Linked DNA regions of Homo sapiens: region 2 is linked to region 1. Evidence: promoter capture Hi-C in 16 types of primary human blood cells and fetal thymus (Javierre and others, 2016). All regions are on one chromosome and are shown on one strand. Each heading gives the region's core, a stretch centred on a gene start or on the middle of the fragment in contact. The rest is flanking DNA. Distances are from core to core; before and after follow the strand shown. Region 1 holds the start of MC3R (melanocortin 3 receptor). Region 2 has its middle 440 kb from the start of LINC01440.

Evidence for each region. The method cuts DNA at HindIII sites, captures the fragments that hold promoters and counts their contacts. A CHiCAGO score of 5 or more calls a contact.
Region 2: a fragment that was not itself captured here is called in contact with the fragment with the promoter of MC3R in region 1 in 1 of 17 cell types (endothelial precursors); the score reaches 5.6 in endothelial precursors.

What each region holds. Positions count from the first base shown.
Region 1 is chr20:56,246,720-56,252,003 of GRCh38, forward strand. MC3R (melanocortin 3 receptor) reads left to right here and starts at 2,013. Exons shown (of 1, transcript NM_019888.3): 1 at 2,013-3,096. The coding sequence starts at 2,125. The coding sequence ends at 3,096. RefSeq lists a silencer at 1,414-1,483. The HindIII fragment of the contact is 15,724 bases long and covers 1-4,529 here.
Region 2 is chr20:54,976,131-54,981,481 of GRCh38, forward strand. No RefSeq gene overlaps it. Among named protein-coding and RNA genes, the nearest start is that of LINC01440, 440 kb to the right of the region's middle. The HindIII fragment of the contact is 806 bases long and covers 2,337-3,142 here.

The DNA.
Region 1 (5,284 bases), core at 763-3,262:
ATATGCATATTTTTAATATTTCTCACACCTACACACACATACATAGTTACATGGAGAGATGGATCATTAATTCACCTAGAATGTGCGTGTGTGTGTGTGTGTGTGTGTGTGTGTGTGTGTGTAGGGATGAGAAGACTCAGTGTTTTCTGAGTTCATATGATCTACATGGGGAATCAGATCTAACATGGACCAAGTGTTAAACCATACTTCCAAGAACAACACTACATTAGTAGGCCACCTGCTAACTTCTGCCTTTCACATTTTCCAGCTTAAAACATCTCCATCCTCCCCATTATGTAAGAAAGAAGTACAGGTGTTTCTGACTGCTCCCTCTCCCATGATCCCATAACCCATCAGTTCTGAAGCTGCATTATCCAACCTTCTGAATCTCTCTGACCACCCTCCAAGTCTTCCAAGTCCCCATGGCCACTCCCTTGCTCCAGGCCACCATCATCTCACCCTGGGTCTTTGCAACACCCTCTGCCCCGGACTCCCTGGCCTACATGCTCAGTCTGTCTAATTCATTCTCCACCCTGCAACCAGGAATATTTCTAAAATGCAGACCCCATCTCATTCCTGCCCTACCTATGTTTCTTCCACAGTCCCCATTGCTGTCAAGGTACTGTCCAAATTCTCACATCTGGCTGAGGCTGTCCTTCAGGATTCAGGCACCTCTCAACTTTTTAAGAAACTGTGCAGCCTCATTTCTCAGATTGTGTCTCCTATTTCCATGCTCTGACCAGAGCAGACTACTTTCAGCACTTTCAAAAGCCCAAGATTCTTTTTCAGTGGAGCTCAACTGTGACTATGCCCCAGCTCACCTGTCAAAAATTGCAAACACACTTGTTCAGGTCTTACACCTGGGTGATTCTGACTCCGCGGGTCAAATGGGATCTCCACATCCACAATCTGTGATGACTTCTATGGCCAGGGTGCTCTCTGCCTCCAGGCTGCAGACGTGTGATTCCCTCTGCCTGGAGTCCTCTTCTACCTCCTCCAGCTCCAGCCCCCACCCCACCACCCACCCCAAACTGGATATGACCTCTTCCTCCTTGAAGTCAAAGCATAGGTGCTCCTTCCTCCAGGAACTTTGACAGTCCGGGTTAGGGCTCTTCCTCTTTGCATCCCTGGTTTCCTGGACTTTCCTGATTCAAGCATTTATTGATTCCTCTTCTTCCACCCCAGACTCTGAGTTCGGGGAAGCCTGAGATAGTGGCTGTTGTCTTGCTCACCACTGTATTTCCTGCACTCAGCAGAGACCTGACACATAGTAGGCGCTCAATAAATGTTTGCTAAACAACAACAACAAATGAATGAACTAACAAATAAACAAACAAATGAACAGATGAGTGGATGCCTGTGGCAGTTTCCATGACAAACACAAAGGGCTAAGCCAAGCCAGCAAGCAGACAGCCGTGCGGCCTGCAGAGGGCACTAGTCTGCTTCTTAATCTCCCTGCAGAATCCTCAGGGCCAGGTACCTGCTGTCAGTCAGAGAGGTGCCCGATGCTCAGTGGTCATTCTGCTGCGCTGAAGATTAAGTAGGAGTTGTTTGCCCTTGGCCAATATGAAAAACCTGAGTGTTCTCCCTTCACTTCTAGCGACAAGTAACACATCCCCTGTCTTGCCATGAAAAGAGCTGTAACTGTAGCAGCCGGTGGCAGGTTTTCTGTTCCCAGGTGGGGAAGTGAGGAGAGACAAACAGAGGGGTGAGAGGGAGACAGAAGGAAGACAGCTGGTAAGAGACCCTATGGTGTATTTTTTCTATGTAAACAAGATAAAAACTGCTCCTCCTGGAACAGCAAAGTTCTCCCTATGTCTCCAAGCTACAAACTTGCATGCTAGCTACTAACTAGCTACTCTCCCTCTCTCTCTCTCTTCCCCCTTCGCTCTTTCTCTCTGTGTGTATGTCTCTCTCTCTCTCTGTCTCTTCCTCCACCCTCTCTCACTATCTGTCTCTCTACCCTCCCCATCCTTTTATTCTAGAGGAGAATAAACTCTAAGGCCAGATTGAATGAGCATCCAAAAGACGTATCTGGAGGGAGATTTTGTCTTTCCTGTGAGCAGCAGCAGCTTCCTACGGACCCTGCTGGAGCCCCAGCTCGGATCAGCCCTTCTGACAGCAATGAATGCTTCGTGCTGCCTGCCCTCTGTTCAGCCAACACTGCCTAATGGCTCGGAGCACCTCCAAGCCCCTTTCTTCAGCAACCAGAGCAGCAGCGCCTTCTGTGAGCAGGTCTTCATCAAGCCCGAGGTTTTCCTGTCTCTGGGCATCGTCAGTCTGCTGGAAAACATCCTGGTTATCCTGGCCGTGGTCAGGAACGGCAACCTGCACTCCCCGATGTACTTCTTTCTCTGCAGCCTGGCGGTGGCCGACATGCTGGTAAGTGTGTCCAATGCCCTGGAGACCATCATGATCGCCATCGTCCACAGCGACTACCTGACCTTCGAGGACCAGTTTATCCAGCACATGGACAACATCTTCGACTCCATGATCTGCATCTCCCTGGTGGCCTCCATCTGCAACCTCCTGGCCATCGCCGTCGACAGGTACGTCACCATCTTTTACGCGCTCCGCTACCACAGCATCATGACCGTGAGGAAGGCCCTCACCTTGATCGTGGCCATCTGGGTCTGCTGCGGCGTCTGTGGCGTGGTGTTCATCGTCTACTCGGAGAGCAAAATGGTCATTGTGTGCCTCATCACCATGTTCTTCGCCATGATGCTCCTCATGGGCACCCTCTACGTGCACATGTTCCTCTTTGCGCGGCTGCACGTCAAGCGCATAGCAGCACTGCCACCTGCCGACGGGGTGGCCCCACAGCAACACTCATGCATGAAGGGGGCAGTCACCATCACCATTCTCCTGGGCGTGTTCATCTTCTGCTGGGCCCCCTTCTTCCTCCACCTGGTCCTCATCATCACCTGCCCCACCAACCCCTACTGCATCTGCTACACTGCCCACTTCAACACCTACCTGGTCCTCATCATGTGCAACTCCGTCATCGACCCACTCATCTACGCTTTCCGGAGCCTGGAATTGCGCAACACCTTTAGGGAGATTCTCTGTGGCTGCAACGGCATGAACTTGGGATAGGATGCAGGGCCATGGAAATGATCATCAGTCGGGTCACTTTTGACTTTCCATCCACGTGAGGTGTTTAGAAAGAAAAATATATATACTTAGAAAATATAAAAATGTGTTAACAGCCATGATTGTACTTGTCGTTTGTTTTTAAGTTTACAAAGCCTTTTAAAGGGGAAAATTGGTGAACAACAGATTCTCTGAAAGGATTCCAAGATGGGTAAGTCACAAACTCTGATTTCCCAAATAGTCACTGGGAGAAATCAGCGAAGGCTTCTCTGCATGCTCTCTGCACTCATTTCCAAACACCCAGGGTGTGCGACGCCTGTCTGCTCATCTGCTCCACACCCACGTCTTCATGCTCCAGGCCAGACCAGACTGAAGGATTCTCATGAACAATAAGGGTGGTTCAGATCTCTTGCAAGCAAACCTGTTACAGCTACGACCTCCTGCTGCCAGCTACACGGAGAGATAGCTTTGCACTTATAACTCCGTAGGAGACTGAGTTCTACTCTATTATTCTATTTACAGTTAGACAATTGTCTCTTTGTGAAAGGAGCAATGCTATGCCGTTTTCCCCTTTTCTTACCCCCATATCCCTTCAGTTGTCCCCACCCCCAAAGGTAGCATGAGGATGTAACCCACTTCTATTTTTCTGTTGTTGTGTTGGTGTGTGTTGTTGTTTTGTTTTTATGGATTAAATCTAAGACAACCTTCAAAACTCTAACGAAAGAGAGAAAGTGCTTTGGACAATCAGAATATACTTGTGTACGTGTATTTTGATACCTTGCTATTTTAAGGTATAGATTAATCTTTTTAAAATAACTTCTTTTTTTCTATCATTTACTTTTAGCCTTTAAAACAAGAAAGGAAATCATGGGTTGGGGTACATGTATATACGTGTGTGTGTGTGTGTGTGTGTGTGTGTGTGTGTGTGTGTATCACAAGAAATTGCTTTACTGTAGCTTAAGATAGTTTGAGAAACCGTAGAACCACTGTGTGACTTTCTTGGGAGCCCTTGTTTTTGCTTATAGTAATTGCATCTCTATCACAGGACTTCTTCAATATTATCTATGAAAGAGAAAGTTTTTTTGTTCTTTTCCCTTTTTGCTTGGCATTGTGTTAAAGTTGAGTGACCCTGTTATCAATGTCTATATCCTATCAAGTACAGGAATTCATTCCTGGGAGCAAAGGGTGAGACTGGCTGACTAGTGCTCGCATTGTCAGATCCTTTTCTGCCCAAGATAACTTCAATTTGTGCTTTCTGGCTGTCCCCATATCTCCCCCTGTCACAAATTCTTATATTAAGCTGTGTCTTGGGGTGCAATTGTGTGTTTATCTTGCACTAGCATATACTGGGGTTCTTTAATACTTGAAGATTTTCTGCTAATATAAGCAAAACCATTCCTTTCTTGCTTTGGTTATGATGTTTGGAAATAATAAAAAGCTTTTATGGCTGCTAAACGTGTGTTACATTGAAATACACCCTGGAATCATTCTGGTGACTCCTGCACACGGCCATGGTATGTTTCACTGCAATTCAGTGATGACTTTGTAAGTGGCATAAACAGCTCCATTGATCACAGTGCTAGTCTTTTCTAGGGCAATGCCTTTTAGCCAAACTACAAAACTCTCCCATTTAGTTTCCAAAAATACCAGGTTTGTGGTTCCCGGGCCACTGTCGTTCTCCATTATTTTAATCAAGACACTAAATTACAGGACTTTCCATGGCCGCTCAGTGGGTAAATGTAGAGAATGGGGAATCTAATTACTTGAAAGTGATATGAATAGCTATAGGGATTATGTCTTTTTTCTATGTAAACAAGATAAAAATAACTTACTTTTCACTCTTATATCAGTTTTCACACTATTTCATTTTATCCCATTAGCAAACCTCTAAAATAGGTGAGTCATTTTACAAATGAAGAAATTTAGCCTTGGAGGGGTGATATGGTTGTCCAGGAGCACCCACCTAGTTAGGGTCATGGTATATTCTGCATCCTGGGGCTGATGTCCTTTTGCACCAATATGCTGCTGCCAGCAGGTTTTCATCATCAAAACTAGTCCCCCTCTCCTCCCTGTATGTTTTAGCTTGCAGGGGCACTTCCAAACTGGAAGGCCCACGAGCATCACCTGGGATCCTGTGCAAGTGCAGAATCTGATTCGGCAGGTCCAAGGTAGGGACTAAGAGTCTGCATTT
Region 2 (5,351 bases), core at 1,490-3,989, 1.3 Mb before region 1:
TAGCTCCTTGAAACCTTGAACGTCTTGGCTCAAGCAATTCTCCAGCCTCAGCCTCTCAAAGTGTTGGGATTACAGGTGTGAGCCACTGTACTTGGCTCATTTTTTTCCTTTTTAAAAATTCTGTTGTTGAATTATTTAAATCATATTAACAGCACATAAAGGTTGGTGAAGTAAGAAAGTGGGGGTGGTTAGAGAGAGAAAAAGGGAAAGCATACCTCTTTTTTCTTATTCATTTTTCATTTAAAATTATGTGTGAGTTCTTCAATAGACTGTCATAGTACTCAGGAACAGGTGCGTGCGTGCGCACAGACACACGCACGTGTGACTCTACCCACTCCCTGATAAAAATGTGTTCAATGTTTAACTTTATTTTTATTTATTTATTTATTATTTATTTTGAGACGGAGTCTCGCCTTGTAACCCAGGCTGGAGTGCAGTGGCGCGATCTCCGCTCACTGCAAGCTCCGCCTTCCGGGTTCACGCCATTCTCCTGCCTCAGCCTCCCGAGTAGCTGTAGCTGGGACTACAGGCGCCTGGCACTGCGCCCAGCTAATTTTTTGTATTTTTAGTAGAGACGGAGTTTCACCGTGGTCTTGATCTCCTGACCTCGTGATCCACCCACCTCGGCCTCCCAAAGTGCTGGGATTACAGGCGTGAGCCACCGCGCCCTGCCCAATGTTTAACTTTCTAGCAAAAAGACAAACTTCATGCAAGCAGGAACTGGGCTCATTTTGTTCACTCTGTTATCTCCCATCTTTGGAACAGTGAGTACCGCAGAGGAGATGGTCTGTACATATTTTCTATATGAGAGGTAGATTTTTAAGGTATAAGGAACAATAGTTGGTCAATTAAGGAGCCTCTTACGTCCTTGTATGAAAACAATCCTATATTGTTTTACTTTGTCTTGAATTTTGTGAACCAATATACTGGCTACTATGTTCAGAGAATGTAGAGCAGCCCTGGTATATCTTCTTTTTATTTAGAAATAGTTTTAAACTTAGAAAAAAACTTAATACAAGAAACTTTTTCCCCTAAATCATTTGAGAGCAAGTTGCTCACATGCTATCCTATCACCAACCAATATTTTAGTGTGTGTTTCCACAAGCGAGGACATTATTCTACATAACTGCAATACAGCCATCAAACTCAGGTCATTAACATTGACATATTACTACCATCTAATTCATACACCCCATTCAAATTTCTTCAGTTGTTCCAATAATGTTATTTATGACAAAAAATCCAATCCAGGATCACACATTGCATTGAACTGTCATGTGTCTTTAGTCTCCTTCCAACTGGGACAGTTCCTCAGTCTTTCCTTGACTTTCATGACACTGATGGAACAGTTTGGAAATCTACAGATGATCTATGTTTTAGGATGTCTCCCAATTTAAGTTTGTCTGATATTTCCTCATAATTGGACCAGGTTATTCATTTGGGGCAAGAAGGTCCCAGTTGTGATGGCCGCATGTGTGTCACACACTCCATCAGGTGGCATTCGATCCTGACTTTTCCCATTCGTGTTGAAATTCACTTTGATCACCTCCCAGTTTCTCCAATGGAAGTTGCTCTTTTCCTTTTGAAATTAGTATGAATGTCATGGGAAGGTAACTTGAGAATACGTAAATATCTAATTCCTCGGCCAGGTACAGTGGCTTACACCTGTACTCCCAGCACTTTGGGAGGCTATGGTGGGATAATTACTTGAGGTAAGGAGTTCAAGACCAGCCTGGGTATTATAGCAAGACCCTGTCTCTACAAAACGTAAAAGAAATAGCTGGGTGTGGTAGTGTATGCCTGTAGTCTAAGCTACTCAGGAAGCTGAGGCAGGTGGATCATTTGAGCTCAGGAGTTTGAGGTTGCAGTGAGCTATGTTCACACCATAGCACTCCAGCCTGGATGACACCGTGAGAACCTGTCTCCAATTTAAAAAAAAAAAAAATCCAATTCTTCATGAAATTCTTACTCATTAGTTCTATATCCATTGATATCCCTTGGATAAACTATTACTATGATGATTGCTAAATGATGATTGTCTAATTCCATCATTCTGTCTATATCTATTGACATTCTACTATAGGAAGATTTGTTCTTTCTCATTAATTTTTATTGGCAAAATCTCATGAGTTCGTATTTTGTTCAATTGATAAAATTCATTATCATTATCCATTTTGATGTTTAAATTTATTTGACATCCTGGAAGCCCTTTCAAGTTGACATCAGTTTCATTTGTCACAGCTATGATTCTCTGAGAACGTTCTTATTTTCTGGCTGAAAACACTCTGTACTTACCTAGTTCTGCCCCAGCCCTGGTATCAGGCTTTATTCTAAGAAGCTTTGATTTCTTTTGGTAGAGAATGGTATTTAGAAACCAAGAACTGGACTCTAATTGTGCTGATTGGTTTTGAGTTATCAATATACTGGCTTTCTCAGAGAACACAGCTTGGGTATGTATATATATTTATAAAGTTTAATTAACTTTTCTCCCTTTTCATGTGTGTACACCCTTTCTCCAACAGTGTAAAAGTTGGTTACTGTTATACTTAGTATATTTACTCAGAGATCACTTGATTTCTGAGACTTTGTGCCAGGCCTCTACTGTCACTCTTACCTATAAGCACCCTCTTCACCTATTTCAAGCTCTTCTTCATCCAGTATTTATGAGCCACATTCAATGTGGCACTCACATTCCAAAGATAGTAGATAGAGAAGTGAACCAAATAAACATGGTCTCTGTTCCCATGAAGCCTGTCTTCTACCTGGAAAGCACTGAGATAGATTTGAATTTTAATTGTTTTTTTTTTTTTTTTTTTTTTTTTTTAGTGGTCACAAAACTTCATCAGGCAGTCACATAAACCATAAGGAGGTTAAAGGCAAACATATGCAGAAACATTTTAAACAGATTCACATGTAGGTCAACATTCATAGAGATTTTCCAGCAATAATGCTTTTCTAGAAAAGGTTTATTAAAGATATCAGTCAATTGTAAGAATTATGATCTATAAATGCTATTCATCACCACCTAGAATATATATCAGACATCAAAGTATTAACTTCTTTGAGTAATTTTTTTTCTAGTTAAATCTTCATTGTCAGACCTCACTTAGATGCAAATTCTTTAAGAGAAATCTTCCAGAGAAGCTTAAATTATAAAAGCCATATAAGTAGAAACACTGTATGTAAGTGGAAGTGGGGTCTAGGAAGCTTTCCCCACCTTCTTCCCCTTCTGTGCAATCCATGGAGCAACTCTGTAGAACACAGTTTGAAATCCTGGGCTACTTAAATGCCCTACTTTTTTTTTTTTTTAGCAAACCTGAAAAACTTCATTCCTTTATGTGGTCAAGAAATAATTACTATGCATCTTTTCTGTACCTAGTAATATACTAGGTGCCATAGAAAAAAGAACAGAAGCCTGGAAAGGTCCACTTTTATCTCACTGAGTTTGCAGACTTCTAGGAATAGAGGCAGCATACAAGTAAGCAAACACAAAGATATTTCCAGACTGATGTAAAACATGTGAAGAAAACCCATGAAGCTGCAAGGGAGCATTGTGGCAATCCTAAGCACTTTATAATAGCGTGGCTTGGAAGAACCTTCATAAAGTGGTGATACTGAAGCTGAGTCCTCGGTAATGTAGATCCAGGCATGAGAATGGTGGGCAAAAGTGATAAGATAATTTTAGACAGAGGGAACCGTGTGCATAAAGGAGCTGAGGCAGGAAGAAGCAGGCATATTCCTAAGAACCTTGCGGCCACTATAGTTGGGAACCATAGATCAAGGATAAGAGGATAAGTTAGTTAGGAAGAGGCCAGTTTTTGCAGGGCTTTGTTTAGGAGTTTAGATTTATTCTTAGACATGGGAAGTCGCTGTAGAATAATGATTGAATAAGGTGTTCGTCATATTTTGGCTACCTAGCAGCTCACCTTCTTCCTGTGTTTGGGAGGATTATCCACTGTATGAGTCCTGGGAATCACTGCTCACCCCCTGTCTCCTTCTCCTAGTGGAGTTCTTCTCTCTCAGGCACTTACAGTGAGAGAAGCATGGCACAAGATCAGGGCTTAGTCAGTCCTATGCCCCTTTCCAGAGCTTTGAACCTGGAGGAGAGTAAGGGAGCACAGCAGAGGAGAAAATTTCCTCCCACTGCACAGTCCTAATTAAATGGCTCTTCCTGGGCCATGGCAATGGGTCCTGTGGCTTGTCTTCCTTGGCAATGGGTCCTGTGCCTTGTCTTCCTTGGCAATAGGTCCTGTGGCTTGTCTGCCTTTGAGGCTTTATTTCTCCACCCTGGCTCCCCAGCCTTTCTGTCCATCTGGCAAGTGCTCAACATTCCTCTAACTAATTTTTCTGCATAAGTTACTATCTTGTATACAATCAAGAACTATGGCTGTTGAAAAAGATATCTCTGGCCACTAGATGGAGATAGAGAAGGCTAGAACAGAGGAAAAGGTGGCCTTGATTTGGGTAACAAGGTGATGATAATGGAGAAAATTCAGAGTAGAGATGAATACCCAAGAGTAGGTAAAAAAAAAAAGCCTCTCAGGTTGGGGAAGAAAACAGCTGTTAGTAAGGCCGTGAACTTTCCTTCACATGAGAATTCTGAAGCTAGCCTTTGGCTACAACCCAAAGTATACTGAATTAAGGTTTTGGTAAAAATAAAGCCACTGTTTAACAAGCTCCCTTACTTGCATTTTCAGTTATAGCAGATAGTGAGAAGCATATACGAAGTAGAAGTGAGGTGGGAAAAGTAGCACTGTTAGAGTCCATTGGTTCTTTTTACCTTTGCATCCTTTTTGAAAGCAACATTTTCATTCAGCTCAGCACAAAGATGCATGTTCAGAATCATAACCCTAGGCGAGCAGTTGTAAATACTCTGGAAGATGTGGTTTGTTTTTTGTTTTGTTTGTTTGGCTTGTGCCGCATTGAAAAATGAATTAGTTGTCAACATTAACAAATAGGAAGACTGGATTTTATTGCAAAAATGTTTAGCTTGGGCTGGGTGCAGTGGCTTATGCCTATAATCTCAGCACTTCGGGAGTTTGAGGCAGGAGGATCACTTTAGTCCAGGAGTTTGAGACCAGCCTGGACAGCATGGCAAAACCTAGTCTCAAAAAAAAAAAAAAAAAAAAAAACTTAGCTGGGCATAGCGGCCTGGGCCTGTAGTCCTAGCTACTCAAGAAGCTGAGGTGGGAGGATTGCTTGAGCCCCCGAGGTCGAGGCTGCAGTGAGCCGAGATCACAACAGTGCAATCTATCTTGGGTGACAGAGGGAGATCCTGTTTCAAAAAAAGTTTAGCTTTTCTGTAGAAGAATTTTGAGCAGCTCCTTCTAAAAAGGAAATGTACACCTCCA